Regions from separate parts of the Homo sapiens genome. Here regions 2 and 3 are each linked to region 1. The links are contacts of gene promoters, found by promoter capture Hi-C in blood cells and fetal thymus (Javierre and others, 2016). All regions are on one chromosome and are shown on one strand. Each heading gives the region's core, a stretch centred on a gene start or on the middle of the fragment in contact. The rest is flanking DNA. Distances are from core to core; before and after follow the strand shown.

Evidence for each region. Contacts are between HindIII fragments. The CHiCAGO score rates a contact against its expected background, and 5 or more counts as called.
Region 2: a fragment that was not itself captured here is called in contact with the fragment with the promoter of EPB41L4A-AS1 in region 1 in 1 of 17 cell types (M2 macrophages); the score reaches 5.8 in M2 macrophages.
Region 3: a contact is called between a fragment that was not itself captured here and the fragment with the promoter of EPB41L4A-AS1 in region 1, in 2 of 17 cell types (M0 macrophages and M1 macrophages). The highest score is 5.5, in M0 macrophages.

Annotation. Positions count from the first base shown.
Region 1 is chr5:112,159,276-112,161,775 of GRCh38, forward strand. It overlaps EPB41L4A-AS1 (EPB41L4A antisense RNA 1), which reads left to right and starts at 1,251. Exons shown (of 3, transcript NR_015370.2): 1 at 1,251-2,020; 2 at 2,428-2,500. SNORA13 (small nucleolar RNA, H/ACA box 13) reads left to right here and starts at 2,210; the gene lies at 2,210-2,342. It also overlaps a transcript of EPB41L4A not described here. RefSeq lists enhancers at 1,118-2,317, 1,136-1,345, 1,218-1,950, 1,726-1,825, 1,846-1,895 and 1 more. The HindIII fragment of the contact is 7,805 bases long and covers 1-2,500 here.
Region 2 is chr5:111,675,368-111,678,523 of GRCh38, forward strand. All of the region lies in intron 2 of STARD4-AS1 (STARD4 antisense RNA 1), which reads left to right. Among named protein-coding and RNA genes, the nearest start is that of NREP, 80 kb to the right of the region's middle. The HindIII fragment of the contact is 2,919 bases long and covers 77-2,995 here.
Region 3 is chr5:111,777,148-111,780,303 of GRCh38, forward strand. It overlaps a transcript of NREP not described here. Among named protein-coding and RNA genes, the nearest start is that of NREP, 22 kb to the left of the region's middle. The HindIII fragment of the contact is 658 bases long and covers 1,392-2,049 here.

The DNA of each region.
Region 1 (2,500 bases), core at 1-2,500:
TTCTTTCTTTTATAGAAGTAGGCTTCAAAGAAACAACGAAAGGTGCTAAAACTGGTCTCTGGATGAATCTCTGCTAGGACTTAGAGAAACATGGAGACCTAGTTGTTATCATACAACTTGTCTTGCTGCCACTTGTCCTGTCCCTTCAAGGAGTTATGGTTATCAGGAAAAAAGCCAATTAACAAACTCTGCTTAATTTTTGTGGTGATAATTAATCAACTCTAAGATTTCAGCATAAAATCCCAACACCTTGCCCTGTGTGACAAGACCCTAAGTGCCTTGCTCCTGCCTGGCTCTCCAGCTGCATCTTGTCACTCTACACTCCTTACTCGACTCCAGCCACACTGGCCAAGGCCTGCTGTCTCCAGATCTTGCATAACCGCCTTCACACATCTGCTCGGAGTTCACTTCCAGTCTTCCTATTCCTAGCCCCATGAGCTACTGAACACTTGAAATGTGTCTAGTCTGAACGGAAATGTGCTGGAAGTATAAAATATACACCGGATTTTTATGACTTAGTAGATATAAAAGAAATATCTTATTAATAATCTCATATTGATTGCCTGTTGAAATATTTAAAATATGTTGGGTTATTATTAAAATTAATTTGATCTGTTTCTTTTTACTTTTTTTTTTTTTTTTTTGAGACGGAGTTTCGCCCTTTTGTCCAGGCTGGAGTCAAGTGGCATGATCTCGGCTCACCGCAACCTCCACCCCCACCCCGCCCGGGTTCAAGCCATTTCTCCTGCCTCAGCCTCCCAAGTAGCTGGGATTATAGACGCCCGCCACCAAGCCCAAGTAATTTTTGTATTTTTAGTAGAGACGGGGTTTTGCCATGTTGGCCAGGCTGGTCTTGAACTCCTGACTTCAGGTGATCACCTGCCTCAGCCTGCCAAAGTGCTGGGATTACAGGCATGAGCCACCGCGCCCGGCGTTCTTTTCACATTTTATGTGGCAATTGGAAAATTTAAAATTACACTCATGGCTCACACTGTTTCCATCGGACAGCGCTACCCTATGGCATGACCCTCTTTTGCTGCCCTCCTGGCACTTACATTGTAGAATTTCAGCATCCGGGCTCACTTGGTCAGTGGCCTACTCACCCAAGCAGAATGTACCACAGAAACCTTGCCTGGCTCACCCACACCTGATTCCCAGGCACTCAGGCCAGGGCCTGGAGCATAGTAAGTGCTGACTAAATATCTTTCGAATGAATGACTCTACTCTTCCTCAGCTGGACTCATGAATTCTGTCGGGTCCCAAAATACGTGGTCTAAAGTCCTTTGGGCTCCTGCCGCTGCCAGCACTGATCATATGCTCTTGACCCTGGTCGGGTGGGGGGATGTCTGGATACCTCCTCTGTGGAAAGAACTGGCCACACATCCGCAGAGGTGACTCGGGCTGAGAACCCAGGCTCCTCCTCCCTTTGGTGACACGCCCCTCGGTCCCTCACTGGCACTTCTCCCTCCGGCCACACGGCGGCGTCTCGCCATAGCGCAGCGGCCGATGGTACAGCCCGCTCCCCCCTCGCGCTCTCGGACAGTGGGTCCTTCCACTTGTAGAAAAGCATTGTGGGACGGAAGCCTGTCCTTTCTTCCTTTTGGTGCGAGCTTGCTGTGGTTTTTGCTCTGGGTCCTCTGGGATGGCGCCTGGCTGTGGCCGCGTGGTCTCTCACGCAGGGGCGCCGGGCGGGGGAACGCGGCCACCCTGAGTCTGGTGAGTCGACTGCGGCGGCCTGTGTCCGAAGTGTCCGGGGCCGTGAACAAGGGCAGCGGCCTGGCCTCAGGCCTGCGTTCCCACGTTTGGAAACGGGGAGCTTCGTCGATTTGTGTTTACATCATCGACTATGCCAGGGAGTTCTCCAGATAAGCCTGGTTTTATTTTCGTCAGTGAAAAGGCCTTACCGTATAACTGACTTTATGCTTGCCCTGCCCCCGTATAAAATAACTTAAAAGCAGCGTGCCTGGTTACAGCTGTTTCCACGTGCGGTGCTCGTCGGGAGTGATCACCTACCCTACAGGTGAGTTTTCACGTTCGTGCAAGACCAGTCGCCATTTAAAACGCATCGCATTTCACTTTTCATTATTAAGTCGGATTTTAAATCGTGAGAAAATTTCTCTGAAATGTATTGTCCGTTTTTAGGCTGTAATCGGCATTACTGTCAGCCAGTCAGCAACCTTATGCCATAAAGCCTACCTCACGCAGTGTCAGCCTTTGTGTTGCCCATTCACTTTGGAAACTAGTGAATGTGGTGTCAAAAAAGGCGTAAATTAAACGCTTTGCAGCCTTTTCCTGCCCTTAAATTTGATACCTTTGGTGTAGGAGCTGCATAAGTAACAGTTGCTGCTTTTACGTTTCCACGCGTGATCTTGACCCTGCTAGCCTTAAGTGTATGGTTTCTCTTAGCCAGTTCTAATTTTTGTTCAGGTGGAAGATGGATGCCTGAAGTGTAGACTGCTGCTAGCTGAATACCATCTGGGAGCATAAAGGTGACCTGAAG
Region 2 (3,156 bases), core at 286-2,785, 480 kb before region 1:
AGAAGAAAAGACACAAAAGAATCCAGCCAGAACAGAGTCAAATTACTGGCTGAGAATATAAAAAGAAAGCCTGGAAAGCTTTAATTTCTAAGCACCTGGCCTTTGGGGGAGAGGGAGTGGAGCTTATCTTTTGTTTTATATATTTTATTTTATTTCATTTATTTTATTTATTTCATTTATTTTCAAATTCTAAAACCTTGGCTCTGCTTCAATAGAGTAAAACCTGGAAGACTGACCAGTTTCTACCAAAAACCAGGGCATGGGGTTGAATGTATAAAATGCTTTCCTGCCTCAGAGGAGAAAGACCCTTTCTGTGTTGAGGGAGGAGCTTTGAGAAAGTTGAGAAAGCAGAGCTAGCGTGTTCAGATGCAAATGTGGGGTCTGCTGAAACCTCTGCATGGAGGCTGAGGAGATGGAAGGGTGCCACCTAGAAACATTTAGGATCTGAGAATAGAAGGTGCCCTGCTTTCCATCTGGAGTAGCCCTGCTGGCCTTCTGTTTGGTCATTGCCTATGCCAAACTACATGTTAAATATTTTTAACATTTTCCTTATACTGGGGAGTTTCAATGGGTTTTCATCAGAGGGTGTAATATGATGTGACTTGTGTTTTGAAAGATCACTGAGTGAAGATGAAGAGGATAGACTGGAGGAGGAATGCCCAGAGACCCACAGAAAACCTTGGAAGCAGTGGTACAGGCTTGAGGGGATGGCAGCCCCAGTTGCGAAGTGTCAGGACTGACTCAAGTTCACTTCTCAGGGAGAGGAAGGAGAGAGACTGTGGGATTGCTCCCAGATTGCTGGCACAGTGGGCTGAATGGTGGTGCCATTAATGGGTAGATAATTCAGGAGAAGGAGGGGGCTTAGGAAGGGAGATAACGAGTTCGGTTTTCATCTAGATGTGCTATGAAATCTTAAAAGTCCTTGAGAAATTGGAGAAATGTGAACTGGTTGATAATAAGGTAAGGAGGATTTGAAGCTAGTGGAACAAATAAACCCACTGTGTTTATTAATGAATCGTGATGCCTCTCAAGGGAGGTCTCTGGTTCTATTGGAGGGCTCTGCCCTTGGCCTAGTTTTTCAAGAACTTGGATGTAGACACAGAAGATATGCTCACCAAATTGCTGTATGATGCAAATATTGAAGAAATAGATATTACAGTAGATGACTGAATTAAAAATTCAGAAGGCTGAAGCAATTGTCTGAAAATAACAGGATGACACTTAGAATAAATATAAAGTCTTACATTTAGGTTTAAAGCAAAATAAATGGCACAGTTACAGGATCTGAAGGTCTGGCTTGGCAGCAATTTCTCCCAACAATTAAATCGGGATTTTTGTTGGCTTAAACTTTATGATGAATCAACAGTGTGATGCAGCCACTTAAAGGCAACTCCCTCTCCAGATGTGATGAAGAAGAGTTTAGAAGACACACTTCCTAGCAAAGTTCCCTCAGTTTTTCAAAACTAAGTGTTTTTTAGAATAAAAATAGTTTAAAGAAGCCACAGATTAAAAACCAAGACTTTTGGTCATTTATTCCAAACACACAAGGCAGGGAATTGCTCTCACTTGGTGGCTTTATGTCCCTGATTGCATCAATTCATCCAGAGACAACTCGTGCCCACTGAATAGACATGTGCTTTCCTGCATTTTCCAGGTCCTTTCAGCTGGGTTGGGACCATGTGACAGAGTTCTGGCAGATAGGAATGAGAGCAGAAGTGACATGGCACTTCTGGTCCTAGGTTCCTAACTGTTGCTGTGTCTCCCGTATCCTTCTTCCTCCTGATCAGAAGAACTTAAAGTCATATGTTGAAGTGCTGGCAGACAAGATGGAGAGAGCCTTCACCCCTGAGTCACTGGATAGTAGAGAGCTCTGCTGACCCACGTGACTTCACATGAGCAAGAAACAAAATTTTGCAGTTATTGAGCACCTGCAGTTTAGGGGTATCTCTATTGTTGCCACTAGCATAACCCCCCAACCCTAAAAGCATTTATCCTTGAACATCACCTGGCAAAGGTGTAGCAATGGCTTAGCCCTTATACTTCTTTACAAGGAACTTCTGAGAAACTCTGCTTGTAGCCCCAGTTTTGAGGTTTTTGGTGGATAAATAATGTACTCGCACACAAAACTGATGGAACTCAATTTTAGTAACATGACGAAGAAAACCACTCTTCTGGTCCACAATTCCTTTATATTAAAAAAAGTACCAATTTATACTAAGGCATTAAAAACACTTATTCATAAAATGTAACACACTTTGTGAATTATCCCAGAGAATGTTCTTATATTGGCTCAGGGTTTTGACGGGCCCTAAGGTCCCTTCCAGTTCATGAAGTAGAGCAGAAATTATAATGTAAGTATAATGGAGGAAATCTTAGAAGTCATCTAATGCTACCAAATACCAGACTTTATAGAGTAGGAAATTGAGCCTGAGAGAATTCGAGATATTTATCCCAGGTTTCTTTGATCTCCTGAATTCCATTTGCAGTGTTCTTCCCAGTACATTGTTTTAAAATTATAGTATTTAAAAGCAAACAATGACAACAACAAAAAAACCCTCTTAACTCTTTTTACCTTGCAAGGAGCTGATTCCTTTCTCCTGAACCTCTTCCATTGTTATGACTCCATGAAAGGGGACAGAGAAGTTTCCTTAGGAACAAAGAGAGGAAAGAAGATGTACAGCAGATGGGAAATCTGTGCAAGCATAGAGCCTACCTTATTCTCATACTACATAACCTTTCCTGGTCTTTCCCCTCTTCTTCTTCAAGCCTTTTTCCTATCACACACATACACATGCTACAAAATCTTTCTGGAACAGATACCTTATCTTCTTTCTCATTCCAGGTTAAACTTAGTCTAGGACAGTGATATTTTTAGTTCAATGAAGTTTTTATAAACTCTAGTTTATCATTTTAACCCCAGAGCATCCTTATCTCAAGGATCTTTCCCTATTCTCCACCCCCTAGTTTTAACCCTTTGCTGCAGAGCTTAGAAAGAAGCTTATTAGAATGATGATCCCTTGGTTAAACCAAGGTCTCCTGCAGCTCATGTCATCATCTGCCAGGCTGTCACTCAGGGTAGCCAGTGGTACCTCCATCATGGACAGATGTCCAGCTTGTGCTCACCGTGTTGGGAAGCCCAGTGGTCAGTGCCATTTT
Region 3 (3,156 bases), core at 471-2,970, 380 kb before region 1:
AACCACAGCTCACAGAACCATTATTTGTAACTATTTCCTCAATTCTTCTATGGATGGTACATAATTAATATCATTCCTGATGCCTAGAAGAAAAGCCAATTTATTACATACAATGGATGACTTAGAGTATGAGAATTTAATTCTCGCAAGGAACTCTCACTGAGAATGTTTATGTTTGCTACAGTGTGTGGTGTGGGTGTGTGTGTGAGTGTGTGTGTGTGTGTGTGTGTTTTAAGTACGTATTTATTATGAGAATCTAACAGTAGTTGTCTCTGGAGAGGAAACCGGGTAGCTCACTTTTCAGTGTGTGACCTATGTTACAATTTAAATTGTGTACTGCGTGCATGTAAAAACACACAAATTTCTCCCTAAATGATACATTGGGAATGTTAGAGAGGTGAGACATCTAGGAGTAAATACGACAATGCTTCAGTGTAGTTGCACATTAACCATTATGTGTATATTTGTGGTATTCAGTAACAAGAGTGTTTTGAGCTCAATTTTTAAGTCCAAAATGCTGTTTATGTAACTTTGAGTGATCTAAGGAAGAAAAAGCAACGTTTTTGAGGGCATGGTGCATAGTTTAAGACTGGCAAAGTTCTAGAAATTATAGGTGTGGAGAAAACAAGGGAAATGTATCACAGTTATACTTTGTATAACTAAAGTATGGCCAGGTCCCAATTGTATTCTCCTAGTAGGTCCCATCACTTTCCCCATCTAGTCCAATTGTGCTCTGATTGCCTGTGTGATGGCTCACATGAAATAGGTTGCTGATTGAGATAAATAGGGTATGGGAGGTCCAGGAATTTCATTGTTTTGCTGGTAATTTGAAATGTTAAACAGCAAAATATCAAAACAACTTCTCTGTTTTGCCTGTACGTAGAACAAGCTAAAGAAAGCCCAAGAAACTGATACCTGGTGGCAGAAATCATAGGATTTAGTACAGAACAATTTAATGCATACACACAGGCACACATCAGAAGTGGGAGTGGTCTTGTCAAGCAGAGGCAAGTTGCTTGCCAATCTCCAGCCAGCACATCAAACTCTTCATATGCTAAGAGAATTGCCCTAGAATATCCAGATACATTTGTAATAATGCAGATAACAAAAATTACTGCTACAAGTGGTCTGAGATTTATTGACAACATCAATGCACGTGCCAAGTGCTTTATATGCATCATAGTGTTAAATGTCCACAACATCCCATTGAGGTAAATAATGTTGTCATCCTCACTACGAGTGAGGAAACAGAGGCTCACTGGGTTTAAGTAGTGTGCTTAACAGTTAGTGAGTGTGGGGCCTACTTCTTGTCCTCTAAACCATGTCCTTTTTGTCTATTTCATGGCCAATTGTCAGTAGTATGAATTCCTTATATAAAGAGTTATACATGAAGCTTTACATGGAGTCAAAGTCCTTATTTAATTGTGATGTAGGCTTTTCCCACACTCCATTACATTTCTTAATTTGCTAATGTATTTCACTCCATTTCTTGGAATGGGCACATATTTTTCAGTATTGCTTTACAAGTTTGTTTGTGTTTGTTTGTTTGGCTGTGAGGCCCTAAAAAGCAGAGATTTCTTCAGAAAGTTGACAAACAGCATATTCTTTAACATCTTGCAAAGCTCTCCTATGAAGCCCCCTCAAATAAAATTCACTATACAGAGGTTACTACATGTAAAATATCTTCAGAGATACTTCAACAGCATACGATGATTTTTTAAGCAAGTTCTTTGGTTACCAAGGATAAGAAGTTCACCATGACATTTCATTCAGTACTAAAGTATGTTTTATTTTTTTAATGGTCCTCGAATATCATAGAAGAACATCTTGTAGCAACCTTTACGTTGCAATCATACTTTATTGAAACTCCTTGATATATGAGTCTTCCCTACTTAACATATATACCCAAAAAAGAGTACATAAACTTATTTGAAAATTTATTTGAAATATATGAAAAGAAATTAAAATACATTCCTATTTTTCTTTCTCCCATCCCATGTAGAATAATTTCTGTTCACTTGGCTACAAACTAGCTGATGCATTAAGATAAGCTTATTGCTGTGTTGTTGGGCTATCTCAGCAAGCCAGAAAGCAAGGGGTGCATCCAGACCTCCTAAGGGGTTGGAAGCAGGAACTAGATGGCTTTCTGGAACTTCACTTCTTTTCCCAGCTCTAGACGCCAGTGTGCATCCTGTCACACAGCTCTGCACCTGCTTTGTGCTTCTGTCTCTGCCGGGAGGTTTGCTCTGCTCTGCTCAGACTATTTTAGCTACTGTCTGTTAGTCTTAGCTCATTGCCCCAGGAAAACAATCTAATTGGATTAGTTACCATGATTCATTTAGCCATAAACAGGTATGTGATGTCACATGTGCCCTCCCATTCACTGGAGCTATGAGAACCAGGAGGAGAGGCTTAGGTCAAACTCTCCAAGAAAGGGGGTAAGGGCAGTAGTGAGGACATGACTGTGGAGAAACAAGTGGGAATTTGTATTATGGCTTGCCCGTGAGAACCAATATTCTTCCAGAATCTGGCTAGAGACTATTCAGAGAGTATATCTTTCATATTTAGATGTTTCTATAAAGGCTTCTCCTGGGTCAATCCATTTCTGAAAGTTTATAGGACTTAACAGTAGGCTTTGGAAAGGCAACTCAATCAGATGCTGAATTGTACAGTATGAGAGAGGACAAGAACATAGCTTACCTATTAAATGGGTACTTGAGGGCTCTCTCTTGATTAAATTGTGATTTTTTATTATTTTTATTTTTGCCTCAGAAGTTCTGTTCTTAGGCATATTCATAATGTCTGAGGCTGAGGCTTTCCCTGAATGCTTTGGAAATCAGAGATGGAAAACTTAAGTGGATAGTGCTGGCCGTGATCCAATGCACGCTAGTGCAATGCAGAGGGGGAAATTGTCATTTTAAACCACAACTGAACAGAGCAACTTCTGCCTTCCCGTGGAGAACACGGGGGTGGGAATGGGGCATAATTTATTTAATTGGAGGAATAAATCTCTTCACTGTTCCTTTCTCTTGCAGAAAGAGATGGAGTAGGAAGCAAGAGTGACCCTCAGATTTAGATGGCATTTGGTTTAGCAGAATACATTAGTGGGACTTTGGATTTAAAAAGAGTCTATGCACTGAGTATGGTGTATGGAGA